Regions from separate parts of the Homo sapiens genome. Here all the other regions are linked to region 3. Evidence: promoter capture Hi-C in 16 types of primary human blood cells and fetal thymus (Javierre and others, 2016). All regions are on one chromosome and are shown on one strand. Each heading gives the region's core, a stretch centred on a gene start or on the middle of the fragment in contact. The rest is flanking DNA. Distances are from core to core; before and after follow the strand shown.

What was found. The method cuts DNA at HindIII sites, captures the fragments that hold promoters and counts their contacts. A CHiCAGO score of 5 or more calls a contact.
Region 1: a contact is called between a fragment that was not itself captured here and the fragment with the promoter of WDR91 in region 3, in 9 of 17 cell types (naive CD4 T cells, activated CD4 T cells, monocytes and 6 more). The highest score is 9.0, in naive CD4 T cells.
Region 2: a contact is called between a fragment that was not itself captured here and the fragment with the promoter of WDR91 in region 3, in 2 of 17 cell types (total CD8 T cells and neutrophils). The highest score is 5.5, in total CD8 T cells.
Region 4: the fragment with the promoter of AKR1B15 here is called in contact with the fragment with the promoter of WDR91 in region 3 in 12 of 17 cell types (naive CD4 T cells, M0 macrophages, endothelial precursors and 9 more); the score reaches 13.1 in naive CD4 T cells.
Region 5: the fragment with the promoter of SLC35B4 here is called in contact with the fragment with the promoter of WDR91 in region 3 in 4 of 17 cell types (naive CD8 T cells, total B cells, total CD4 T cells and 1 more); the score reaches 9.4 in naive CD8 T cells.
Region 6: a fragment that was not itself captured here is called in contact with the fragment with the promoter of WDR91 in region 3 in 7 of 17 cell types (megakaryocytes, naive CD4 T cells, activated CD4 T cells and 4 more); the score reaches 7.0 in megakaryocytes.
Region 7: a contact is called between a fragment that was not itself captured here and the fragment with the promoter of WDR91 in region 3, in 6 of 17 cell types (monocytes, activated CD4 T cells, naive CD4 T cells and 3 more). The highest score is 8.1, in monocytes.

What each region holds. Positions count from the first base shown.
Region 1 is chr7:134,618,057-134,622,140 of GRCh38, forward strand. LOC124901750 (a long non-coding RNA gene) reads right to left here. Exons shown (of 2, transcript XR_007060537.1): 2 at 1,031-1,892. Among named protein-coding and RNA genes, the nearest start is that of BPGM, 27 kb to the right of the region's middle. The HindIII fragment of the contact is 944 bases long and covers 1,923-2,866 here.
Region 2 is chr7:134,658,210-134,661,961 of GRCh38, forward strand. It overlaps BPGM (bisphosphoglycerate mutase), which reads left to right. Exons shown (of 3, transcript NM_001724.5): 2 at 3,238-3,752. The coding sequence starts at 3,299. All of the region lies in intron 1 of LOC124901750 (a long non-coding RNA gene), which reads right to left. Among named protein-coding and RNA genes, the nearest start is that of BPGM, 13 kb to the left of the region's middle. The HindIII fragment of the contact is 2,528 bases long and covers 1,239-3,752 here.
Region 3 is chr7:135,209,586-135,213,261 of GRCh38, forward strand. It overlaps WDR91 (WD repeat domain 91), which reads right to left and starts at 1,941. Exons shown (of 15, transcript NM_014149.4): 1 at 1,795-1,941; 2 at 1-170. The coding sequence starts at 1,917. RefSeq lists an enhancer at 1-473 and a silencer at 1,644-2,183. The HindIII fragment of the contact is 4,223 bases long and covers 237-3,676 here.
Region 4 is chr7:134,547,319-134,550,962 of GRCh38, forward strand. AKR1B15 (aldo-keto reductase family 1 member B15) reads left to right here and starts at 1,792. Exons shown (of 12, transcript NM_001080538.3): 1 at 1,792-1,931. It overlaps LOC105375520 (a long non-coding RNA gene), which reads right to left. Exons shown (of 3, transcript XR_928005.3): 3 at 39-3,644. RefSeq lists an enhancer at 1,803-1,862. The HindIII fragment of the contact is 2,317 bases long and covers 902-3,218 here.
Region 5 is chr7:134,314,577-134,318,417 of GRCh38, forward strand. It overlaps SLC35B4 (solute carrier family 35 member B4), which reads right to left and starts at 2,354. Exons shown (of 10, transcript NM_032826.5): 1 at 2,099-2,354. The coding sequence starts at 2,175. RefSeq lists a silencer at 1,895-2,064 and an enhancer at 2,145-2,874. The HindIII fragment of the contact is 10,331 bases long and covers 1-3,841 here.
Region 6 is chr7:134,685,445-134,689,306 of GRCh38, forward strand. The region is part of intron 1 of LOC124901750 (a long non-coding RNA gene); the gene reads right to left. Among named protein-coding and RNA genes, the nearest start is that of BPGM, 41 kb to the left of the region's middle. The HindIII fragment of the contact is 5,670 bases long and covers 1-3,862 here.
Region 7 is chr7:134,449,089-134,452,697 of GRCh38, forward strand. AKR1B1 (aldo-keto reductase family 1 member B) reads right to left here. Exons shown (of 10, transcript NM_001628.4): 2 at 2,498-2,665; 3 at 1,698-1,814; 4 at 632-709; 5 at 1-31. Among named protein-coding and RNA genes, the nearest start is that of AKR1B1, 8.2 kb to the right of the region's middle. RefSeq lists an enhancer at 1-266. The HindIII fragment of the contact is 5,053 bases long and covers 1-3,609 here.

The sequences.
Region 1 (4,084 bases), core at 1,145-3,644, 590 kb before region 3:
CCAGAACCTGTGAATGTATGCTTATTTGGAAAGGAGGCCTTTGCAGATATAATTAAGGATCTTGGGATGAGATTATCCTAGATTCAGGGTGGGCCCTAAATCCACTGATTGATATACTTAAGACAAAAGAGAGGGAACTTTGAGACACATGGAAGCACAGATGAAGGTTTCATGAAGCACGAGGCAGAGGTTAGAGTGCTGTGTCCACAAGGGCCAAGGATTGCTGGAAACCAGAGGCGAGGAGAGAGGCATGGAACAGATTCTCCCTCAGATCCCCCAGGAGGAACCAACCCTGCAGACACCTTGATTTCAGACTTCTGACCTACTTAACTGTGAGAGAATACATTTCTGTTGTTTTCAGCCACAAATTTGTGGTTCTTTGTTAAGGTAGCCCTAGGAAACTGATACAGGGTGGGAACTCCTATTTTAGTCGTGTGAAGAGTGAATGGTCTGGAAAAACACAATGATGTATTCATGTGGCTAGGGAGACTAAGACCACCTGTAGTCCCTGAAACTTTGGGGGTAATCTCCTTCAAGTTCCCTTTAGAAAAATATGGCTCCTCTTCCAGAAACCACATATCCTGATAGTCTGAAATATCTGTAGTTATTTTTAGGCCATTGTTCCATTTCCATGGAAGTGTTTGCAAAATTAGCCGGACATGGTGGCACGCAGTAGTCCCAGCTACTGGGGAGGCTGAGGCGGGAGGATCACTTGTGCCCAGGAGTTCATGGTTGCAGTGAGCTCTGATCACGCCACTGTACTCCAGCCTGAGTGACAGAGTGAGACCGTGTCCCAGGAAAAAAAAAAAGAAAAAAAGAAAGAGTTTGCAAATATTTTGTTTCCCAGGAAGTCATAATACCCTTATGATTCAGTCAGCCTGATTCTGCAGTCCTGAAATCTCGGCTTGCAGCAGATGTGTGCTGAGAAGGCTGTGCTTACAGAGAGCAGCCTCCCAGATCCCTGTATGCCCTGATTCCTGGCTTGTCTCATCTGGAATAAAAAGAAGTAACAACCAACACTGCACTTTGATGCTTTTATTCATTTGCTGCTTTTATTCATCTGTTCTCCACCTCAAGTGCCCTCACCCCACTTGGGGAGTCCTGGCTTATCCTTCAAGACTTGCCCAAATGCCTTCTGCCCTGTGAAGTCCTCCTTGAAACTGAAGAAGCAATTATTCTTCCTTCTACGTTCCCACAGAACTCTGCACCTCTATTAAAGGACTTATTAAATTCTATTACAGCTTAGTTTTTATGTAACTGTCTTCCCTGAAACACTCCAGAGGTGGCATCATGACTTACTCATGTCTGAATCACCAGCACTTAATCTAGAACCTAGCTCAATAGTTTTCATATAAATTAAGAAAAGCAATACCTTAGAAAATCTCTAGTAGCCAAATTCAAAGTTTCTCTAAAGTGTACAACTGCTATGATTTAACTTCCTCTATTTTGGATTTCAAGCCACTAGAATTTGGAACAGGAACAAAGTAGTGCAGAAATTATTGTGTACTATGTGAGCAGAGTTCAGTGCAAAATTATGGAGGTATGTAAGTGTTTGTAGCTTTGGCATTATGGTCAGGGGAAACTTCTTTCCTTCAGAGGAAAAGGGCAGTGTCATCCCTGGGATCACAAGCTTCTTGAACATGTGGAAGGTGGGTTCTTCCTATTTTGGATTTCAGCTCAGCAAAGGCTTTCCTGAATTAATCACTGAAGAAGCACACGGCACCATATTTCCTTCATCTGGTCACTGCAGAAAGCAAAAATGTTTATACCAGATGGTGCTCAATGTGATGTCATCATTCCATGGTTTATCCAAATTCCCTCTTTCATCATGTTTTGCTTGGAGTTACACCTGGAGTTTTATGTATCTGCAAATATTCAGAATGAATTCTCAGCTGTGGAAGAAAAAAATAGATGATGCTCTAAGCTTATGTGTAAATATCCTTTGTAGAAAAGATGAAACATTTCAATGAATAAAAGCTGAGGGCAAAAGGAAGGTTTGAGTAGGTAAGTGGTGTATGTTCCCATGGGAACAAGCAGCTGCTGCCAACAAATGCATGAGAAAAGGCTATAGAGTCTTTCTATGATTCAGGCTAAAACTAAATTTGTAAAGGAGTCGAAACACACATGAATCATCCCCTCTTGTCCACTGTGATCATGACTATCTCCAAGTCAAAAGCTAGCCAAGAATCACAATGAAGACTAGCCTGTTGTGACAACTGAAGTTGTTTGCACTAAATATCTCCACCAAGGAATTCCAACAGCTTCTAACATCTACCACATAACAATTTAGATTAATTGGCCTATTAAGACCCTCATAATCTGGCACCATGATCTCTATCCCATCTAATTTCTGACCACTTTCCTATATGGGCTAAGGTGGTCTCACTATTCCCTGAACATTCTTGTTCATTCTTAACTCCAAAACCTTTCTCATATACTTTCTCTGTCTTCTAGCACTGTTTCCTTCTTCTTCATCTATTCAAACCAATTTATTCTTAAATTCCAGTGCTAGGATTATCTGATCTGTGAGGTTTGTCATGATTGCAAATCATACTGTTTCTCCCTGCTCTGGATTTCTGTACTGTCCCTCAAGAACTGGAGGTGCAAGCTAATGTTTCTATTGATGTCAATCATCATTAATGGACACTCTTTGGTTCACACACTGTGCTAGCAGCATAATGGACATTTCCTGTTGTTCTGCTCCCTATTTTCTTTGCTGTTCCTTTGTTTCAAACCATTTAAAATAGTTTTTTTCCCCTTCCTCCCGATGATCAATATAACTAAGGGCTTTTTGTTCCTCTTCAATCCTATATAAGGAAAATATTTTCCTCCCCTTCTTAAGATAGGAAAGAATTGGTGGATACTAAGCTTGGTGAAATCTGTTGGAATCTTCAACTTTAACCCCTTCCAAATTGAGGGGCTCAAATAAACCTTAGTTAAAGCACAAATTAGTTACTAATTAGGGAGCTCCTGTACAGATAAGGGAGTATTAGTTTTGGACCATTTGGCCACTTTTTTGGATATCCAGATTGTAGAATTACCAACAGGCATACTCATTGGTGTGTACTGAGTCTCAGACAGGATTCAGAATGAGAGTAATTCTTTTGGGATCTGAACCTTGCAGGAAAATAAAAATAGACAAAGCTTGATTAGGGTCTCAAAGTCTGGCAATACCAGTTTAACCATGAACAGATAATGAAATCTTCATAATAACATTTGATTGGTATCTAAAACCCCAAAATGCCTCTATTTCTAGGGCAATACTATCTCTACATTTTAAAAAAGTTTCTGGATGCCAAGATATTTAGCTTGATTTTATTTATTTATTTTTTATTTCAACAGGTTTTTGGAAAACAGGTGGTATTTGATTACATGGATAAGTTATTTAGTGATGATTTCTGAGATTTTTGTACACCCATCACCTGAGTAGTGTACACTGTAAAGTCACTCTTGTTCACTTACGAAGAATGAGAAGAAAAACTCTGAAACAAAAATTCTCCTGCCTTTAATTGAACAAACTGTAGCCCACTCTAGAATGACTTTTCTGTAGCTGGCCCACTGTGGTAGAGTACTTTCAAAAATATTCACTCCTTCCCCCTTTTACCTCCACAAGGGAAATATCCTTCCCCAAATCCTTGACTTTGGGTTTGGCTGCATGGCTTGCCTTGGCAGATGTGACAGAAATAGGGGGTTGAAATGTGCTTGAGTGGTTGGGCCTGGCCTCTTGCACCCCTATCATTGCAACGAGAAGAGTGTGTCTTGACTAGTCATTGCAACGAGAAGAGTGTGTCTTGACTAGTCACTGGTCCAAGGCACATGAAGAAGATGAAGCAGAGCCACCCAGCTGACCTGCAGCTCTGTGAGATTAAATGATTGCTATTTTAAGATACCGAGTTTTGGGGTGGTTTGTGACACAGAATTTTTGTGGCAATAGCTGATACACATCCCAATAGCTCCACAAACGGTCATTATCTTCCCAAGTTCTGTTTCTGTCCCCAGAAAATATCATTCTTGACCGAAAAAATGCAAATATAATATTTTCCTATGGGCTTCTAACTCAAACGGCATAGGGTGTTTCAGAAAA
Region 2 (3,752 bases), core at 1,253-3,752, 550 kb before region 3:
AGGAGGTTTTGAAATGATTGTTTTAGCTTTTTTAAAAAAGACATTTATTTACTCAAAGTTTCTCTGTGGTCTGACTCTAAGTCTTGCATTCATCCTAGTCTTCGATGTCAGCAATCCCATCTTCTTTTTGTTTTCCAGAAAAGTTCTAAGAACAGTGCTGTTGGCTCAGTGAGATGAGGTTATCGGAAAACTTTCTGTTTACACAAGAGTTGCCTCCTTCAAAGAAGCATGCATGGTCCTTGCAGGTCACTGTGCCCATCACTCTGCATAGTCCAGCTGCACTCTGCTTCACACAGCTGCCTGCCCATTGCAGGCATTTGAGTTTGCAATCCATGCCTTAAACTTTAAATCACACTGGCTACAGCGTTGTGTGTTTCTTGGTAAACACTGGGTAAATCAGCTCCTGTGGATGTTGACTGAAGTTTCTATGTTTGCAAGCTAATCCTCAGCAGTTTCTTTGTAAGTATCCAGCAGTTAAGTGGGAAAAGTCCGTTGATAGTACTAGGGAGGAGAGAGGAAAGTGACCTTTTGTTTTCTTGAGATAGACATACTAGTTTAGTACTTTATCATGTATTCACCTGCGTAAATGTATTCCTGTGCTTCAGAGTGAGGGAAGGATGCATATTTGCATAGTTTTTGTGACTGCAGTACTGTTCCTCTGTTCTGGTGTGTGTGTGTGTGTATTTTTTTTTTAGTAAAAAGAAAACAGAACTTTGTTTTAATGCAGTAAGCAAATATAGGAGAATAAGATACCACAAAGCTTGGTGGTGGGTGCCTGAGTGTCCATGTTGCTATTACTACATTGTTTTGTCCCCTTGATATAGTTTATAATCAAAAGATGGTGGAAAGGTGCTTCTGTCTACAAAATTTGTCTAACCATGCCCTTCTTTAACTGAAGAGAGAATGGCTTCATTAGCTTATGGAGGTTTCTCACTTGACAAGATAAACTGAGGGTGAAGGTAGAGGAACAGTTGATAGCTTCTTTTTTCTCCATCCCCCTCCTCCACTACCAATAACAAAACAAAATGATCAATGGTTACAAAGGGTAGATACAGTTTTTGATGGAGCTGAGGCTTCTACTACTTGGTGGATTGGGGCTTTGTAAAGAAACACTGCAAAAATATCTTCCATTTGCAAATTAACACACTTACACACACCCCTCCGTGTGTGTGTGTGTGTGTGTGTGTGTGTGTGTGTGTGTGTTCATCACCTGGTTTCTCACAGGTGAGGGGCTCTGAAGCTTGAACTTTGTTAGATTCATGACTATTCTGCCCCTGGGCACAGGCAGTCATCTGGCAAAACACTGCCTAGATACCTTTTGTTCCCTTCTCTGTTCTGCCACCCTGATGCCTCTTCTAGGCTAAGGACAGAGACATTGGGCTTCCTCCTTGGGAATTCTCAGCTCTGTGGGATGCTTTAATCTGGGTCCTGAGCCCAGGCTCTTCTGGTTCCCTGGCACTTCCCTGCTGCACATGCACAGCAACCTGGTACTTAACAAGAAAGGAAAATCATCATCCTAACTGCTGTAGCCTTTCAACTTCAGTCATGCACCACCTAATGATGTTTCAGTCAAGCATGGATCGTGTAAATGATGGTGGCCCTGTAAGATGGTAATGGAGCATATATAGACATCTGATATGTGGCACTTGACATTGGCATTGCAGATCGAGTAGGGGAAATGACTGATATTCAGTAATTGTGCTGGGATACTTGGCTTTCCATATGAAAAAACATAAGTAACAATATGTATACCATCTAGGTTTGTGTAAGTACATTCTATGTTGTTTGCACGACAAAATCACCTAATGATGCATTTGCCAGGACATATTCCCTTCATTAAGCAACACATGACGATACTTGCAAATCACCTCAATTTGATTTCTTTCCTTAAGTCCTCTGTTTGCCTTCCATTGAAATATAAAGCCTTATTTTAAAGACTGTTTTCCCTTCAGAATCTCTAGGAATTACTAAAGAAAGGTAGAAACTAGATCTAGATTCCAATCAATTTTGCCATTGATTGTTATTTTACTGTGGGTGACTCACAGTTTAAGTGGGAGAGAAAATCTCCAGTTAATGGAAGTTGCCAAGAGTGGCAGAAGACCAGGCTGTAGTGCTCGTATAATCTTTACAACCCAGTGTGCAAAACACTGGAGGAGAGATGGAGAGGCCGGGCGTGTAAACCAAGCATGTGTCAGTGCAGATGTGTCCACCACAAGGAGAGAGAGAGGCGGGCTGAGCAGCCATGTCAGCAGATTCTCCGAGGATGGAGTGGGCCCAGCAGATCTTCAGGCCAGCAGCTTAAATGTAAGGAGTTCAGCATAGCTTGAGAGTTGCTGGTCTCCCTTTACTAGATTCTCCCCCTGCTAAGACGTAGCTGGTGTGTGTAGGATATCTGGAGGGCTGGGGAGGAGGAGGTGGGGCCTCTTTATCAGTGTGGTTCCTCTCACTCCTGCCTACCAGATCTGTTTGTACAGGCAGCATCCCTCAGCTGCTTGCATTTGATAGCTTATTTTGCATCTGGATTTATTCCTGCTGAAAACTCTATCTTGAGGTAGGTGCAAGATTATTTAGGTACGTACCATATTTGGTGTTAATGTCTCTTTAAAGCACTTTTAATTTGTCTGAATGTTGAACTGATGTGTTTTGCATACCTTAGATTTTCTTGTGTGTTGTAGCCTGTGGCATTGAAGAGCTAGTTGCCACCAGCCAGTGATACATATCAGATATATGCAGTGGTGCATTGAAATAACATGTTTAATAACTTCTATAATAAGAATGTGAGACTGGTAAATACTTCTTTTTCCACCACAGGAAAACAAAGTGAAAAGGATGCCTTCAGTGTAGAGTCAGCTGCTGGGAGCTGGGAGTTCCCAGCCACTAGTCATTCTTTCAGACGTCTGTAACTCATTCTATTAAATCCTTTCTACTGTAAGCATAAATTGCCTTTGTATCTGGCAGAAACACAGCATGCCATTAGAATGAAGTGTTTTGTTATTTTATGTCATGCAATTAACATGCTATCCAAACATCAGAAAATTTAAGTCAACTAGATTCCCTGTAATGAATTATTAATATCTATAGAATATGCCTGTATGTGTCACAGTGTATGAGTTATCACATTTCTGACTGTTCAAAGGGATTTCAGTTTCTTTTAGAAATTGGGTGTTGTAAAGCGATGTTTCTATTCCTAGATTGTCAGTTGAATATAACTTAGACTTGTTGTTCTTGTCTTTCTAGATGTATTGCTGTCCTTGAATATTAGCCCATTTGAAAACGCCTGGGAAGTTCAGCCATCAGTATGTCCAAGTACAAACTTATTATGTTAAGACATGGAGAGGGTGCTTGGAATAAGGAGAACCGTTTTTGTAGCTGGGTGGATCAGAAACTCAACAGCGAAGGAATGGAGGAAGCTCGGAACTGTGGGAAGCAACTCAAAGCGTTAAACTTTGAGTTTGATCTTGTATTCACATCTGTCCTTAATCGGTCCATTCACACAGCCTGGCTGATCCTGGAAGAGCTAGGCCAGGAATGGGTGCCTGTGGAAAGCTCCTGGCGTCTAAATGAGCGTCACTATGGGGCCTTGATCGGTCTCAACAGGGAGCAGATGGCTTTGAATCATGGTGAAGAACAAGTGAGGCTCTGGAGAAGAAGCTACAATGTAACCCCGCCTCCCATTGAGGAGTCTCATCCTTACTACCAAGAAATCTACAACGACCGGAGGTATAAAGTATGCGATGTGCCCTTGGATCAAC
Region 3 (3,676 bases), core at 691-3,190:
TAGACAAGATAAAATCGAAACAGGCTGGTTTTCAGCTTGTGGATTGTGGGTCTGTATATATCCTCCAAGCGGCTGAAGAGCCGACGCTCCAAGTAGCTCCAATAATCCCGAAGGGCAGCCAAGTCATACACCTGCATTAACTGCTGCAGCTGGTCCACAATCTTATCCACCTGGCGAGAAACATGGATGGAGAAGGTGGTAAGGGACAGAAGGGAATTCTCCCCTCCATGGAATAAAGCTTTTTCCTCTTGTCATGGCTTCTGGGTGTAAAAAAAAATTTGTAAGTTAGCAATCTATAAAATTTTCAAAACATACTAATGCAACGGTTTTTCAGTAATTTTCTGATGTTAGAGAAGTGGTTTGACCCTCTAGCAAGCACGGAAATTTCAGGTGTAAAAGGGCTCTGGCCCAGAACCTAAGAGATCTGGCTCCAGATCTTGGATCTGCCTCTGACTTACTTGATCAATTTGGCAGTGTCATCAGGCCAGGCACCGTGGCTCACGCCTGTAATCCCAGCATTTTGGGAGGCTGAGGTGGATGGATCACCTGAGGTCAGGAGTTCGAGACCAGCCTTGCCAACATGGTGAAACCCCGACTCTACTAAAAATACAAAAATTAGCTGGACGTGGTGGCACGCGCCTGTAATCCCAGCTACTCGGGAGGCTGAGGCAGGAGAATCGCTTGAACCCAGAAGGCAGAGGTTGCAGTGAGCTGAGATCGTGCCACTGCACTCCAGCCTAAGCGACAGAGTGAGACTTTCTGTCAAAAAAGAAAAAAAAATGGCAGTGTTGCTTAACTGTAGTTTCAGTTACCTCACATTTTTAAAAAAGGGGGTGGGGTGAAGAAGAGCTATGAGACAATCTCCACAATTCCCAGATCCCAAGGATCATGAGGAGGTGCATGGACTGACTCCTTCAAGTCATCAAAGTTCCACGAAGCCGTGGTAGCTGCTCAGAGTGTCAGCCAAGGAAGTCACCTTCTTGTGAGGAGCAATTACAGCAGAGTACAGAATCTGGAAAAGGGTTTGGATATCAATACCAATCCAATGCCCCTAGTTTATAGATCAGGCCACTGAAGCCCAGAGGGGTGAAATGATTTGCTTTTGCCACTAAGTAGCCACTAACTTTGGCCAGGCAGGAAACCAGATCTCCTAACTCCCCTCCAGTGCTCTTGCTGTTAGCTCACTGCCTCTCATTGAAGTCAGTACACACAAACATACAAATCACACACATATACATTCCAAGAACCTCGCAATGGAAAATCATTTTAGAGCAGGGGAAGTTTGGGTTTCTCTAATGTGCCATGAGGTCTTCCACAACTGCAGAAGCAAAATTGCCGATGAGTCCCTGACGAGGCCATTTTAAACAAACACCGCAGATACTTGAACGCAGCTAACGTTTTGGACTGCAGACTTCTTTGCTTCCACTGCCACTGGAAGCCAACACGAATATCTGTTGCCAAAACGCAACCATCTACCTAACCTCGGCTCCTAAAACCTCATCGCCATCCTGGCCAAGGAGGCTGGAGTGGAGACAGAACCCTAGACCAGGAGCCGGGGCATCGGGGCTCCAGCCTCGGCGATGCTCCTGACTCGGGGGGCGGCTTCAGGCAGGTCCTGTCCGTCTGAGGGTCTCAGTTCCTCATCCGTCAAGCTGGGGTCGGACGCGCTGAGGTCTCCGGCGCCCCGGCGCGAGTGACAGCGCCGCTCTCGCCCCGGAGGCAGTGCTGGGGGGAAGCCCGCTCCCCGGCTCCCTCGGGCCGCCTCTGCCCGCGCCGCTCCCGCCGGCCTCTCACCCGGAACCCCTTCTCCTTGTCCGCCTTGATCTCGGCGTCCAGCTGCCGCAGTGTGTGCGTGAACCCGCGGAAGAGCAGGTACTCCCGGACCAGCTCGTCAGTGCGCTCCACGGCCTCCGCCATCGCAGCGCTAGCGTCTTTAGGGGTGGTGCGGTGAGGGACGGAGGGGCGGGGCCTGGGAGAAATGGGGCGGGGCCGGACGCGGGCGCCGAGCACGTCACGCCGCGACAGGCCTACCAGCCCGCACGCACTGGGCGACCAGCCTGAGGCCCCGCCCCTCGGCCGGCTCCCCGCCCGAGGCCCCGCCCCTGAGCCAGCCCCAGCCCGCCTGGCCGCTCGAGTCACCCTTACCCCTCCCGAGGAGTGGCGAGGGGAGGTCCTGGCGGCGCCGGCGGCGGCTTTGTCTGAATTACTGAAAGTGGCGGCTGCCACCCACGTCAAACAAGACTGGATCTTAAGAACATCCCAGGTAGTCCCGAGGCGGGCAGGGGGTGCGGCGCCCTGTTGGTTGGCGTTACATCGCAGAGCTCCCGGTCCCCTGCCCTCCTCCTACACGGAGGAAGCTGGAGCCCTAAGAGCAGAGTGACCTGCGTGAAGCCACAACACGCGTGTCCTCAGAGAGCGCTAACTCCCCCAAATCTCTGCTTTCATTAGTAAGACGAATTGGCTACACAGCAAGATAACCAAGATGCACTGCTAGGATAGGCAAATTTCATAGCAGTGTATGTACGCTATAGTCCTGGTTTCTTGTGAAAAAAAAATTAGGTATGTATGTGTGTACATTTTTTAAATTCAGGAAGATTATACACCAAGTTCCTATGCAGTCGGGTCTCTGCATCCTCGGGTTCCGCATTCACGGATTCAACCAACGAGGATTGAAAATATTTTTTCCAAAGTTTTAAAAATAAAAAATAGCCGGGCGCAGTGGCTCACACTTGTAATCCTAACATTTTGGGAGGCCAGGGTAGGCGGATCTCTTGGCCCCAGGAGTTGGAGACCAGCCTGGACAACATGACGAAACCACATCTCCACAAAAAAAAAAAAAAAAAAAAAATGCGGAGCGCAGTGGCTCACGCCTGCAATCCCAGCACTTTGGGAGGCCGAGGTGGGCGGATCACCTGAGGTCGGGAGTTTGAGACCAGCCTGACCAACATGGAGAAACCCCGTCTCTACTAAAAATACAAGATTAGCCGGGCGTTGTGGCGCATGCCTGTAATCCCAGCTACTCGGGAGGCTGAAGCAGGAGAATCGCTTGAACCCAGAAGGTGGAGGTTGCAGTGAGCCGAAATCGCGCCATTGCATACCAGCCTGGGCAACAAGAGCGAAACTCTGTCTCAAAAAAAAAAAAAAAAAAAAATTAGCCGGGCGTGGTGGTGCTGCCTGTGGTCCCAGCTACTTGGGAGGCTGAGGCAGGAGGATCACTTGAGCCCAGGAGGTCGAGGCTGCAGTGAGCTGTGATTGTACCACTGCACTCCAGCCTGGGTGACAGAGCAGGACACCGTCTCAGTTTAAAAAAGAATACAATTTTTAAAAACACAAATTAAATATAGCATAACAACAATTTACATAACATGTACAATGTATTCAGTATTATAAGCAATGTAGAGATTATTTAAAGTATACAGGAGGAAGTGTATAGGTTAGATGCAAATACTAGGCCTTTTTACATCAGGGCATCCATGGATTTTGGTCTTCTAGGGAGGGTCCTAAAACCAACCCCCTGCAGATACCAAGTGACAATTGGAGTGGTTTTATCTGAGAGGTGAGACTATGAAGGACTTCTTGTTTTTTACTTTCTTTTTATTGTTGAAGTTTTTACAAGGTGCACGTATTTTTGTAAGTAGGAAAATAGCCAATATCTTTGAGACTTGCTTCTGCAGAA
Region 4 (3,644 bases), core at 542-3,041, 660 kb before region 3:
AAATAATAAGAGAACCAAGTATAAACAAAAACAGCAGATGATAGAATATTGTTGTTTTATTTAAGTTCGAGAACCCATCCTTAAGCCCTCACTTTTCTGGCCAAAATTTAAGTCTAATGAAGAGCGAATTTGTCAGCTGTTAATCAAATATGTTAACAGTAAGAGCCCTGTGTCCCAGGAAAAATCGATTACGCCCTCTGCTGGCGGCAGGGACCAGTTCTCCTTTACCCTTTAGACTCTGGAGGGAGAAAATCAGAAACCAACCTTTCTAAAAAGGAAAGAGTTCCCATGCCTAGACAACCCATACCTACCAAGACATGGGATCCTCTAAATCACCTTCCTTCCTTCAGCGCCCCCAATCCTGCCCCTTTGGTTCCCCTCTCAGGTCCCTCCGGCTGTGGTTTCAGGTTACTCCCCAGCTGTTTCAGGCCACGCCCCAGCCTGTGCTGTCCCTTCAGCTGAGGTTTCAAGTTACTCCCCAGCCGCTTCAGGCCACAACCCACCAAGTTAAAACTATATTAAATCAAAACGCAAGGAGGGAGATTACCAACTCAAAAATTTTAAAATATGAGGCTATCTTTCTGGGAAAAAGGTGATTTAATATTAAGTACTAATAATTCACTTTATTCAGCAGGCTCTTTAACGGGGGATCCAAACGTAAAACGAGAGAGCACGCGTGTTTAAATCGAATTAATTACCATACGAAAGTTCAACCAGACTTAGGAAAAACTCCCTTCAAGACAGGGTGGCACTTATTCATAGATGGAACCTCCCAGGTGATTAAAAGAAAGAGACATAATAGGTATTCAGTGATTAATGGAAAGACTGTTAAAAAAGTAAAATCAGGAAGGGGGTCTAATAATTGGTCTGTCCAAGGGTGTGAACTGTTTGCACTCAGCCAAGCTTTAGGACATTTACAAAACCAAGAAAATCTATCTATACTGACTCTAAGTATCCCTCTGGGGAGGCACACACATTTGGGAAAATTTGGATGGAGAGGGCTCTTATCAATAGTAGAGGCCAAGATTTAGTTCATAGAGAACTGATGCTCGTGTCCTCAACAATCTCCAATTGCCAGAAGAGATAGCTATTGTACATGTCCCAGGGCACCAAAACGACTCGCCTTTCACAAGTCCAGGAAATAATCTTGCAGATCAAATTGTGATACCCTATCTTGTTTTATCCTGATTGACTCTTTCTTAGCTGAGAGAGTCAATAGCTTGGGAGACTCAATTGAGAGTCAATATCGAGAGAGTCAATAGCTGAGAGAGTCTTAGCTTGGTTTCTTCGCTTGCAGCCCCTTGTCCCCCTCCTTAAGGACATAACTGGTGCAAGCTGACTCCAAGCACATCCAAGAATGCGCTTATTGATAAGATACTGAGGCAAGCTGTACCAGCAGCTCCTGGGAGCACACTTGGTTGGTGGTATCCAAAGCCCCTGCTTTTATCACTTTGGGATACTTTAAGCCCCTGCACCTGGAACTGTTTATTTTCCTGTAACTGTTTCTGTAACCATTTATCTTTTAATTTTTTCCTGTTCTGCTTCTGTAAAAAATTGCTTCAGCTAGACTCCCCCTCCCCTCTTTAGGCCAAGGTATAAAAAGAACTCTAGCCTCTTCTTCCGGACCGAGAGAATTTCAAGCTCTAGCTCTTTCTCAGTCGCCAGCAATAAAGGACTCCTGAATTAGTCTCAGAGTGTGGCATTCTCTCTATGACTTGCTCGGTTACGACATTTGGAAGCCCCAGAGAGATTCGCCACCGGGTGAAGACCTGACTCATTCCGGGCTTCCCCAGACAGACAGCTGGCTTACAGGGCCACCTGAAGACGTTCCAGGGCTCCACAGGCCACTGTCTTCTGGAGGGGAACGGATCGACTGCCGGTGCGCCCAGCCAAATTCAACTCCTGAGTCCTCAGTCTCTAGTCCCGGGAAGGTAAGTCAGATCTGACTCTGTCTCTCTGGGAGGGAAACGGCCCTGACGAAGGTCCTCCCTCAGACTCTGTCCATGCTCCAGGACACTGGAGGACAGAGTCCTGGTTTCTGTCAGGATTCTCTGTTAAGTCTAGTCTCTCTCTCTCTCTATCTCTTCTCCCTCTCTCATTCAGGTCTCCGGGAGATCTCTGTTTTAGAATGGGTATAAAAATTGTAATAAACTCTGAGTGAGTGAGTGAGTGAGTGAATGTGGAGTTCAAGGGCTTGCGCTTGAATTTCCAGTTTGTAGCTCCAGGGTGAAAGCTAGGGAATTCGAGAAGGCCCTCACCTGTGGTTCCGTGGTGACCTCATAAGGCTTAGGGCGGCATCAGGCATAGCTCGATCCAAGCCAGGGGTTTATACCAGCCTGCCAATGCCAAGAGGAGCCTAAGTCCCCGAAAGGGGAGCAGCCAGGAGGGCATCTGACTGATCCCATCACGGGACCCCCTCCCCTTGTCTGTCTATAAAAATTGCCATGCTTGTTTATATACCCCAGTGCCTATTGTCCTGTTTAGTGTCTGTCTAAATTTCATATGTCGGATCGTCGATACTGCCCAAAATGACTGGGCAAGGACTTCTTCAAGGTCCTTAGTACAGATTTTCTATCCCAGGAGGTCAAATTCCTCATTAGTCGGTTGGGCTGGCCATCCCAGTCCTGCCTTTCCTGTCAGAAACAAATTAGGTGTTGTTATGGGGAAGGGTGTGGAAGACATTCACCCGTTTAGGATTTCTGGCACCATAAAGATTGCTGGCGTTTGGATTGCCATACCCCACGCCCCAACGACTGGTCCACCTTCTCCTTAGACCAGTGGTGGATCCAAAATAGCCACCCTGCTGACCTCCTTACTCACCTTTTCTGTCATCCCATAACTTTTCCCATGCCCTTAAATAAGGCACTGTGCAGAGAAACCTACACCCATACTGCTCTACTCTGTCTGGACTCTTATTTTACCTCTTTTGGCTACTCTCCAACCTTTAGGGAAATCCAAGTGGCCCCTTTCCTCCTCATCCCCATCCCTTACCCTGCACATCTCATTTTCCTGTGTTGCAGCAAGTCCAGCGTCTCTAAGACTTGGCTGTGTTCTCCCTCCTTAAACCCGTGAAGGAAAGGACCGAGTTTGAACATTTTGCTTTCGAGTCGTGGAGACACCAAAGTTATTTGGGATATAAGTCAAGAAGGGGGGGTCACCTAAGTCCCACTGGCTGAGGATCCCTTGGACCCACCTCTTATCCTCTCCATAGATCTCGAAGCTTGAGGAGACAGACCTTATGTGGCAAGAAATATTGGCTATAGTTGTTTTCCTACTTCTTCTAGCTATAATACTTCTGTTCTTCTGATACCATAGCCTCCCAGGCCGTGAATATCTTTGTCCATGCTGGGTTTAATATTTTTGTTCAAACCTTGTTAATTGCCTCCAGAATAGTAAACTCTTCTTCCCGGCCCCATAAAGATTGGAGTCCTCTCCAGTGTATGTTGCAGAATTTCTCTCTAGGCTTCTCAGATGATTACGGGGTCCGCCTTAAAAAAGGCAAACTCTGGACACTCTGCGAAGTAGAATGGCCAAAGTTTGGAACTGGGTGGCCCCCAGACGGGTCACTACACTTCACAGCTGTTCAGGCTGTGTGGTGGGTCGTTGTTGGAACTCCCGGTCACCCCGATCAGTTTCCCTACATT
Region 5 (3,841 bases), core at 1,104-3,603, 890 kb before region 3:
CCAGGCTGGAGTGCAATGGTGCTATCTCGGCTCACTGCAACCTCCACCTCCCGGGTTCTAACGATTATCCTGCCTCAGCCTCCTGAGTAGCTGGGATTACAGGTGTCCACCACCAGGCCCAGCTAATTTTTGTATCTTTAGTAGAGACGGGGTCTTACCATATTGGCCAGGCTGGTCTTGAACCCCTGACCTCGTGATCCACCCACCTCGGACTCCCAAAGTGCTGGGATTACAGGTGTGAGCCACCATGCCTGGCCAACTTTTTTATATTTTCAAATCAATTGTTGCCAAAGTGGCCTTCCTTTAAAAGTGTATCAGATTTACAGTTGGATACAATTTTTTTTTCATTTTTTATCCCTCATCACCTATTCCCAAGTCAAATAACAGATCTTTATCAACACTTTCTGTACAATAAAATGTCAAGCTCCGTAACAGCAAAACTTAACCCCACACAGAGTTTACCTTAAGTAAACTGGTTGCTTTGGGATGATTTAATCAATGATATCAAATAAAATAAACTTCTAGTAGGCACCACATGAAGAACTGGATGACCAAAATCTATGGGCTGCTCAAGTTCAAAACTGGCAGGGAGGTTGAAAAAGGTATTGGACTAGGAGCTTAGATATCTTGGGTCCCATTTCTGGCTCTGCCACTTACAAGTAGTGAAGGGTCACCTAACTTCTTTGGACCATTTCCACTTCAGTAAAACAGTTTATAATTCTTGACCAATCTTCTGCACAGGATTGTTCGGATGATCAACAGAGATACAAGTTGAGTATCTCTCATCTGAAAATCTGAACTCTGAAATGCTCTAAAAAATATGAAACTTTTTGAGCACTGATATGATGCCACAAGTGAAAATTCCACACCTGACACCTTTGCTTTCTGATAGTTCAACGTATACAAACTTTAATTCATGTACAAATTATTAAAAATATTGTATACAATTACCTTCAAGCTAAGGTTATGTGTATAAGGTGTATAAGAAACACAAATGAGTTTGTGTTTAGATTTGGGTACCATCCGTAAAATATCTCATTATGTATATGCAAATACTCCCAAATCCAAAAAAAAAACAAAAAACAAAAAACACCAAATAACACCCGTTCCCAAGCATTTCAAATGAAGGATACTCAACTTGTAATGTATAGATTCAGAAACACGAGCTAGAGAACACTATAGGTATTGTTTTACTGCCAGGAAAAGGAGCCCAAGAGAGGCTAAGTGACTTGAAGGGCTACACAGCCAGTGGACGACGGAGCCAAGAGTGAAATTCACAACCCAGCTTTTTAGTCCTGGAGGCTTTTCCACACCACCTGTTGTCTCTTCTGTTATAGCTTCTATCCACTGAACTTTGCACATTCAAAGTGACCTCAAAGAGCCCTCTCAGGTCACTTGGACCAATCTTCTACTTGCTTTTTTTTTTGTCTTTTTGCAAGCCACCTCAAAGAGCACTCTCGGGTCACGTGGACTGATCTTCTACATAAAAATCTGTTCTACCGCATCATTTATGTATGTTTGGGCAAAGTACTCATAACCATTTCCAAGGCCAATAAAGCAAATGCTTTGCAGGATGCCGTAATAAAAATAAAACTTTCTTTGCAGTATGTACAAAGTCAGACTGCTTTACAAGTCAAAAACCTTTGCTCAAGTCCAGCCTGTGCCATTTAACAGGATCGAAAAAAGAGCTAGAGTTGGATGGGAAGGAAGAGAGAGTGGTTTGGTGAAGGAACCTTGGTTCTGACACTAGCTCTCTGCCGACCTTGGACTGGTCATGTGAAAAACTCTTCAGACTTCAATACCCCCCGAGTGTGGAAAAGGGGTGACGACAGCAACACCCTGAGTCTTCCCCTCGCAGGAATGCTTTGAAACTGTTAGGCGGGACTGCCGCCGGTGCGCAGTTTTGGGAAGCAGCGGACTCAGCGGGGTCCCAGGCTGCCCAGACAGGACGGATTGCTGGGGGGCTCAGGCCGTCCTGCCCCGGGCTCCGTGGGCGGCGGGGTGGGGACAGGGCGTGGGCGCGTCCCGGGGGGACCTCTCCTCTGGCTTCCTCCGCCCCGCCCCGGGAGACCGGGTGCGGCCCGAGCGGGTCACTCACCGGGCCAGGAGCTCTAGGAAGATCACGTTACTGCAGCAGCCTGCGAACACCAGGCCCACCGCCAAGGCCGGGCGCATGGCCGGTGCAGGGTTGGGGAAGCAAGCGCACAGAGTAAGCGCCCGCCTGTACCGCTACCCCAGGAAGCCGGCCTCCTGCCTCTTCGCTGCGCAGCACATCGCACCGTCCTGGAAAGCCGCTCTCACTGGGGGCCGCCGCGGTCTCCCCTTCTCCCGCGGCCAACACCGACGCTGCCAAGAAGCTGTAGTTCGCAGTCAGCTTCGGTCCCATTCATCCGAGGGGGCGTCCGAGCCCCGGCCAGACTACATGTCCCAGGATGCCGTGCACCTTTACCTCAGGATGCGACGTTCCCGCTTCCGCCAGGCAGCTCCGCCAGAGAGGACAGGGGGACGAGGTGCCCGGCATGACTCGCGCGATAGGCGGCCGCGGGTCTTGCTGGGAAATGAAGTCCCAAAGCGTCAGTGTTTCTTGCGAGACCGCCCAGAGCGCTGAAAGTAACTCGGCCGCCAGGGTCACAACAAACTTGCTGGCAGCGGCGGCACTAGAACTACAGAGCTGTGACTGCTCGTTGGAGGTGTTCTAGCATCTGAAACAACTCTGCTTCCTGAACTGATATATATATATGTATCTTTGGTGACTCTATTATGCTGCCAGGATTAAGAACCACTGAGAATTCAAGTAAAGCAATGGCTCTCAACCACGTCTGTACATTGGAATCACTTGGAGAGCTTTAAAGATGACTGATAGCCAAGTCCCACCCCCAGCGATTCTGATTTAATTAGGCTGAGGTGCAGCCTTAAAGGTGATCTATTGATATTATCCCTAATCCTAGCTCTTTAAGGTACTCCCTTCCTTTACCTCCGTGGTTCTCAAACTTAGCTGCGCAGTCAAATCACCTGGGGGCTTTGAAAACTGCCAACGTCCAGGCTCTTCTACTGGCAAAAATGCCAATATCAGCAATCAGATCTTTAATGGTGAAAAGAAGGCATACTTCCCTCTTCTTACAGTGGAATTCTCATAGCACTTACAATCTGAGCCATTCGACTTGACTCTTACTTACTCAATGAACAAATGTTTGTTAAGCACATATTACGTACATAAGCTAGTGCGGCACTATTCTTTATTTGTAAAATAGGTATGCACACTTTATCCACCCAGCAAGACTAGTTTTTAAGGGAAACGTGTTTACACTTCCTTTCTGCTTCCCAGTGTCTACTATAAAAGGTTAGCATCACTGCTCAGTATTTTACCACATCAAATATTTCCGTTGTAATTGAATCCAACAGCAATAGCAAAGTACACGGTACAAAGCTAGGTAGGATTTTGGAATGCTATATTGTTTTTGCTATTTCCTGTGAGACACGAACATTCTGAAGTCTTTCTCGAGATCTACAAAATAGTTTGGAATGCTTTTTTCCCAGTCCGTGACTGGGAGATCACATTGGAATCATCTGAAGTACTCGTTATCGAGTGCAGATTATTGGGTCTCGCTTTAGACCTACCAAGTCAAAATCCTTGTGTATGGGTTCTAGAAACTTGTATTTTTAACAAGCACTCCACGTTCTAATTCTAATGCATTCTAGAATTTGAGAACTGCTGCCTTAAAAAGGTGAGTAGGAAGAAGAACTAACATAAATAGAAAGCCTACTACCTGTGAAATTCAGTATTTAATGAGCACCCGTCTTGAGTTTGCACAGTGCTGGCACATTAAACAATGAATTATAT
Region 6 (3,862 bases), core at 1,068-3,567, 520 kb before region 3:
ATCTTACATCGTATATGCAGTCCGCTGTTGACCAAAACAGCACATGACTGAGGCACATGACTGTACAGTAAATGTCATAGCTGATGAATTGAGGAAATGATTTGTAATGTTGTATTATTCTACTATCATCTCAGCATTTCTGTAGGTTTGAAATTTTTTTAAAAAACTAGAAAAAATAAAGTGACAGAGGAAAAAATTGGTAAGTTTAACAATGTTGTGTTTAGTATAGTCATTAAAACATGTCTTATTCAGAGTGAGGTGCCTGGTTTTTTTGACTTTTTATTCTTGAAACCTCAGTCTTTGTTAAGTAAGAGAAAGATAAGAGAAAGCCTTCTTCTTTTCTTCTTTTTTTTTTCTGTCTTTTGAGACAGGGTCTTGCTTTGTCGCCCAGGCTGGAGTGCAATGGTGTGATCTTGGTTCACTGCGACCTCTGCCCCCCCAGGTTCAAGCAATTCTTGTGCCTCAGCCTCCCGAGTAGCTGGGATTACAGGTGCCCGCCACCATGCTTGGCTAATCTTTGTATTTTTATTAGAGATGGAGTTTCACCATGTTGACCAGGCTGGTCTCAAACTCCTGACCTCAAGTGATTCGCCCGCCTCAGCCTCCCAAAGTGCTGGGATTACAGGCATGAGCCACCACACCTGGCCCAAGAGAAAGACTTCTTAAGTCTGTATTATCTTGTCAAGAAACAAATTGTATACTTATTTTATTTCTATTATCTTTGAGGCTACAGCTTGCATCAGACCAGCAATGAGCTTGTGTGCTGAAACAACAAATCTGAAACACGATTATGACTGCCATCACCTTGCAGTTAACCAATAGTAATGGAATTCCTTTCTGGATCACGAGGTCAAGAGTTCAAGACTAGCCTGACCAACATGGTGAGACCCTGTCTCTACTAAAAATACAAAAATTAGCTGGGCGTGGTGGCACGTGCCTGTAATCCCAGCTACTCAGGAGGCTGAGGCAGGAGAATCACTTGAACCCGGGAGATGGAGGTTGCAGTGAGCCAAGATCACGCCACTGAACTCCTGTCTGGGCAACAGAGTGAAACTCCATCACAAAAAAAAAAAAAAAAAAAAAATTCTCGTGAACTTAACCCTAACCACACAGTATTGAAGAGGGAATGTCTGCCCAACCACACTGCTTTGTATCTGCCTGAGAGGAAAATTCTCTGGATGTCGTGTTGAACTGGATGGGGAATCAGACAGAGCTGGAGTTTGTATTAGTCAGATTAATTGCATAAAATCTACCCTTAGTGGGAAGACTCTTAGGAGTAATTGAACCTAGACCTTGACATATGTAACCTCTGAAGCAGAGGGGCAAAGGCCAACACATAGCTCTGCAACACAATTGAGGCTATGTAATCCATCCCGACACTCATTCTGTAGAATACTCATTAGAATTCTCCAGACCTAAGGCCGCTGGCCATAGGTTAGCTAGTCAGTATTTTTATCTCTGAGGATGCCTGCTAGGATCCTGGGATTGGATTGCAGGGAATGTTACTTGTAGCTGGAATTCCAGGTACTCTCCCAGGAGTCTTGGTATTTTATATCGTTTTTAAAATCTTTGTTTCTGTACGTAGACACTGGGGGTCAGTATTTATTCATAAATGCCTCTGGATATTTATGACAAAAGATTGTTTCTAAAGAGGCTTGGAATTCCTTCCTCGGTGCGACTTCTTTCCCTGATTATTAACTATAGAGTTTACCCTATGTAACCATAAAATGTAAATATAAACATCATAGATGTCCATGGATCAGAATATGGGAAAGGGGCAGGCAGTTTTCCATCTAAAATACGAATGAATACCAAGTACTCGTTTGTTTCTAGACACTTGTTTGGCAATGTTGGTCCCACCAGTGCACCCAGATGTCTAGCCAGCATCTTGACAATCACCCTTGACTTTTCTTCTTCTGATGGTTATGAAGTCCTGCTGATTCCGTCACCTCTTACCTTGCAAATTCATCCCCTCTCCATCCCCACTGTTCTGCCTTGAGTTAAGCCCTCATCTTTTCTCTTTCAACATTTCAGCAGCCTTCTAGCTGATCCCCTTGCTTCCGCTTTTACTCTCCTCTAGTCCTCTCCAGACAGTCGTCAGGGTAATTCTTCAGACCTTCAGAGGTCCAGCACCCCTCCTAGGCTCTGCCTTTGCACCCGCTGTCCCCTTGGCCTTGAACTACCCTCCATCACCCACCCCACCTTGCCCTCTTTTCATTGCCTGCCTAATATCTGCTCATCTTTCAGGGTTCGTAACAGTCTCCTGTGGAGCCCTGTGATCGACTCTTGCTGGATCTGGCTTGTTCACTTGTCTGTTCGCTTCACTGGCAGGAGAACTGAATGGATTTAAGTCTGGGTGCCAGCCAAAGTCATGCAAACTTAAACTCCAGAATTCCCTAGAATTATCCACTTGGGGGGCCAAACTGCCCACTGTTTTAGATTTGTTCTTTAAAATATTTCTCGCAGCTGGGTTTTTGTTTTCTTTTTTTCTTCCTATTTTTTTTTTTCTTTTGGAGACAGAGTTTCACACTTGTCGCCCAGACTGGAGTGCAATGGCACAATGGCACGATCTCAGGTAACGGCACCCTCCACCTCCCAGGTTCAAGTGATTCTCCTGCCTCAGCCTCCCAAGTAACTGGGGTTACAGGCACGCACCACCATGCCCAGCTAATTTTTTGTATTTTTAGTAGAGACAGGGTTTCACCATGTCGGCCAGGCTGGTCTCGAACTCCTGACCTCAGGTGATCCACCCGCCTCGGCCTCCCAAAGTGCTGGGATTACAGGTGTAAACCACTGTGCCTGGCCTAAAATATTTCTCCTGGCTGGCATTTGATCTGACCTGTCTGTTCTCTGCGGCTGTCTTCCTACCATGCCAATACATGGAAGCAGAGGTGGAAATCCTACCACTGCCGGACAGGAAGGCAGGTGAGGCTAAGTAGCCTGTCAGCACCGAGCCCTTCTCCATAGGCAGCTGCTATAATGGTACAGAAACAGGTTACTTATGGAGTTGCAACCTGTTTTTAACCTGTAATTATAGAGTTAAATATAACCATATAAACATCTTGAAAATAAGTGGGAAAGATTCCCTAATGTTCCCATCCTAAGAACTATTTTATTTCTTTCTTTCTATATGCATGTTTCACTTAGACATATTCTTGATTTATATTCATATTTTATTCTTGTCTTTATCATAAGGATTTCTCCATGTTGTATAGACTTCAAACAATTTTACTCCATGGCTGAACACTGTTGCATCATTTGGATAGAACTTAAATGTCCAACAGGAAAAAAAAATTAGGTGCTTTCAATGTTTTGCTGTAAGTAATGTCTAAATATTTAAAAACTCAACCAAGCTAATAAACTGCTATATAAAATATGTTTTGTATATTTTTTATGCCTTGAAAAATATACCTTTATAACAAAAAGTACTTTAAAATATATAAAGCCATTTTATATGACTAAAAGCCACCACGCATCATCAAGGATGGTGATGACAGTCTTCTCTGAAAAGGTTTCATATATATTGAACTTTGAATGATTTTGTGTGTGTTTGCGTAAGTGTGTGTGTGTACCTGTACATGCGCTCCAGGCTGAAGAAGTAACAAGTGCAATAGTCCTGAGACAGAAGAGAGTGTTTAGGCAACAGATAATAGGTAAGGTCAGTGTAACCTGAACAACTTGAAGAAGGTGTTTAGGCAACAGACAACAGCTAAGGTCAGTAGTGAAGGCTGAAGTGGTGTAGGATGGGATTGGGGAGGTAGGCAGAAGCCAAATTGAGCCATGGTAGGGTGAACGGAAGACAGGAAAGGTCTTCCAAGCCAAAGAGTAGCCCAGTAGCCCATGCCCTCATTGCCACTGAAGA
Region 7 (3,609 bases), core at 746-3,245, 760 kb before region 3:
CCAGCCCTTCATCCACCAGCTCTTCCATGGCCTACAGAGAAAAGTGTCTGTGTGGTGCAGAAACGAACCCAGAAAGGACAGGATCAGAAGTGTCGTTTGCACCAGTTTAACGGGTCCTGCCCTCACTCTTCAGTGCCAGTGAATTAGACCTTTCAGAAGCTAAGAGACAGTGAGACGAAAGCCAGGCTGGCTTTAATGAGATAAGAAGAGCAAACAGGCCGGGCGCGGTGGCTCACGCCTGTAATCCCAGCACTTTGGGAGGCTGAGGCGGGCGGATCACGAGGTCAGGAGATCAAGACCATCCTGGCTAACACGGTGAAACCCCGTCTCTACTAAAAATACAAAAAAATTAGCCGGGCGTGGTGGCGGGCACCTGTAGTCCCAGCTACTCAGGAGGCTGAGGCAGGAGAATGGCGTGAACCCAGGAGGTGGAGCTTGCAGTGAGCCGAGATTGTGCCACTGCACTCCAGCCTGGGCAACAGAGGGAGACCCCAACTCAAAAAAAAAAAAAGAGAGAGCAAACAACAGGGACAGAATAACAAAATGCAATGTGAGAAATGGCAGGCAGATTGCTTCTAAGAAGAAGAGGGAACCAGTCACGAAAACAAGGTCCAACCAGGGGCTGTCTTACCGCCCACGTGTCCAGAATGTTGGTGTCACTGGGAACCACATTGCCCGACTCATCCAATGGGAAAAATTCCTTCCCAGGCTGTCATTACAATAAAAAACAAACAAACAAAACAATCAGTAATAGTCCTTCACAGACCTGCTGGGGGAAGCTGGCATCTAAAACAATTCTAAACCACCACAGCTGGCTAGGGATAATCTGTGTGCCACTATGAAAAGGAAATAGGCAGATAGCCAACACTTCTTTATCAAACGGGCTGGAGCTGAGACTGTCAGACGGAGACATGGACACTACTTGGTCACAGAGACTAGCCCCGCCACTGACTGCAATGTGTGGATACAGGAAGGACTCAAGACCAGGACTCACAGGGCCCAAGGCCTGGCGGGTCACTGGCCTATAAAACTACCACCTGGCCCAGCCTCCCCAGCTTACCCCTAAAATCAAAAGATAAAAGTCAAGTCCCTTCAGCCCTGATATGCTGTGGTGCAATAAAACAGGGCTACGGGATAAAGCTAAACCCACACTTTGAACCTGGCTCACAGCAGAAAACTGAGGCAGTGGCTAGAAAAAAGGCAAAAGACAAAGTAACTCTCAAGTTCTTCTTGTGCCAACAACTAGACTGCAAATAGTTACCGGGCCTCCACAGGACAGGGTATGCATGTAGAACGTGGGTAGGGACTCATGTGTATGGGGGTTGGTGTGTGCACGTGCCTGGAGGGGAGGGCCAGGGCTGACCGTGCCTCATGGCTGTGTGCACTACAGACAGCAGCTGTGTTTGCTGACAGTTTTAAATTGCACATCTACCAACTGGCAAAGAGCAGTGCTCCTCAAACTTTGAAGAAGTGTGCGTATGAGTCACTGCTGGTGCGGATTCAAATGGCCTGCGTGGGGCCCGAGACTGTGATTTCTAAGACGCTCCCAGGTGATGCCAGTGCTGATGGTCCACTGGCTATACCTTGAGCAGCAAGAACAGAAAGTCACCCACACGTAATCTGCTAAGGGAGCTCAAAACACACCACAGGTTGCACCTGAGCCCCAAGGGACCTGGTCTGCACCAGGCATCCCATACCTTAAAGCCAGTCGGCCAGTGAATAAGGTAGAGGTCCAGGTAGTCCAGCTTCAGGTCGCTGAGTGTCTTCTGGCAGGCTCCTTTCACCAGGCCCTTCTCATGGTACGTGCACCACAGCTAAGCCAGCGAGAGGGCACATGTCATCATTGCCAGCCACAAGGCAGCTTCCTGGCTGGAAAGACAGAGCAGTCTCCTCTCCCCAAAACCCATTTGCTTTACCATGATGCTGTGAATGGTTGTGAGGGCATTTCCACTGCGTACTGGATCCTAACTTTCCAAAGGCAGGCAGGATGACCAGGTCACAGAGACCTCTTACAAGGACCAGAGGACACAAAATGGAATGGACAGATTGGCTAGCCTGCCCTAGGCCTAAGCAAGAACTCTCGAAACTTTCCCCCCGGGCTGGTGTTTGTGGAGCCAGCCCCATCCTCCTGCCTCATGTCCTTTGTGCATCAGTATCTCAGGTCAAAGACAGTGGCTAGCACTGGAGATTCAGTTTGCAGATGGGAACCAAGTTCCATCCTTGAAAGCGACTCCCTGGAAAGGGAGGGCCAATCCACAACCTCAGCCTCATCAGCACGGGACTCTAAGCAATGGGCCCAGATGGAATGACCATTCAACAGAGAGCCAAGGATGGGCGAGCTCTGGAGCCCTGTATGGCCGTGGGTGATACGTTTCCCCGGGAAGAATCGCCCATCAGTGAAAAGTGTAGCTGTATTGAGTGTGGACTTGGCTTTGGGCTGATGCACCAACAGATGATGGGACCGAGAGCCCCTTCCAGCCCCACCGCGGAACGATACCTTGCTGACGATGAAGAGCTCCTCACGCTTCACCACCTGCTCCCTGAGCTTCTCCTGAATGGCCACCCCCACCTCATTCTCATTCTGGTACACATGGGCACAGTCGATGTGGCGGTACCCGACGTCAATGGCCACCTTCACGGCCTCAGTCACCTGCCCTGGAGGGGACTGAAAGGAGAAAGAACGTGAGCCCCGCAGAATGCAGAGTCTGCACAGCAAGGAGGAGGGGCAGTGGCAGCCACCGATACCTGCTGACCAGCCTGCCACTTTGTTCAGCAAAGACAGACCACGTGCACTTCCTCAGCAGCATTCTGGACTATCAGCCTCAGACGCGGGGGATGGAAGTGAAAGGCCACACAGCATTGCCCTGTAGGAGAATCTGACAGCCACTTAAGTGTAGGTGAGATCACTTTTAAAAGATATGCTGAAGCCATCTCATTTTCTTGCTTCTTCACATCCACTGATTTGCAAACCACTGTATTAAAAACATTTCCCCACACTCTGAATGCTGAGATAGTAAGGGAAACCATTTCCTTCAAATATCTCAAAATATTTCAAAAATAGATGTCCTATGGACCCCAATTCCCATGTGGCTCCCCAGTTCAGCCAGTGAATGCCTGCCCCTTACGCTCTCTTTTCATGCATGGCTTCTGATACCGGCAGTCGCTTGTTTTCAAGCGGTTCTGGGAGATTATCATGAAGTTAAGCACATCACTGATGTTTATTCAAAGGCCCATGTGTCAATTCTCACTGTATGAGGATCTGCTTCAAGGGGTGGAGACACGGGAGATGGCCCCTCAGAGGTATCAGCAGAGAGAAATAAGTTAAAGGGAAACGAGGGGGAATGTGGATCATGGAAGATCACCAAATGGTTAGTGGCTGACCTGGCAAAATGACTGAATGGGTGTCCATGGCCAAGCCACCTGACCATCTGAGTAACCAGAACAGCTGTGGGGAGCCTGGCTACTGAAGAGGAGGAGGAAGTGCCTACATGGCATCGCGCTTCACTGGCACCCAGGTAGGCTGCATGGACACGTATCCCCCAACTTTCACTATCCTGCTATGATCACAGAGCTGAGCAATAAACATGTGCAGCGGGCTGTTGAATGAAC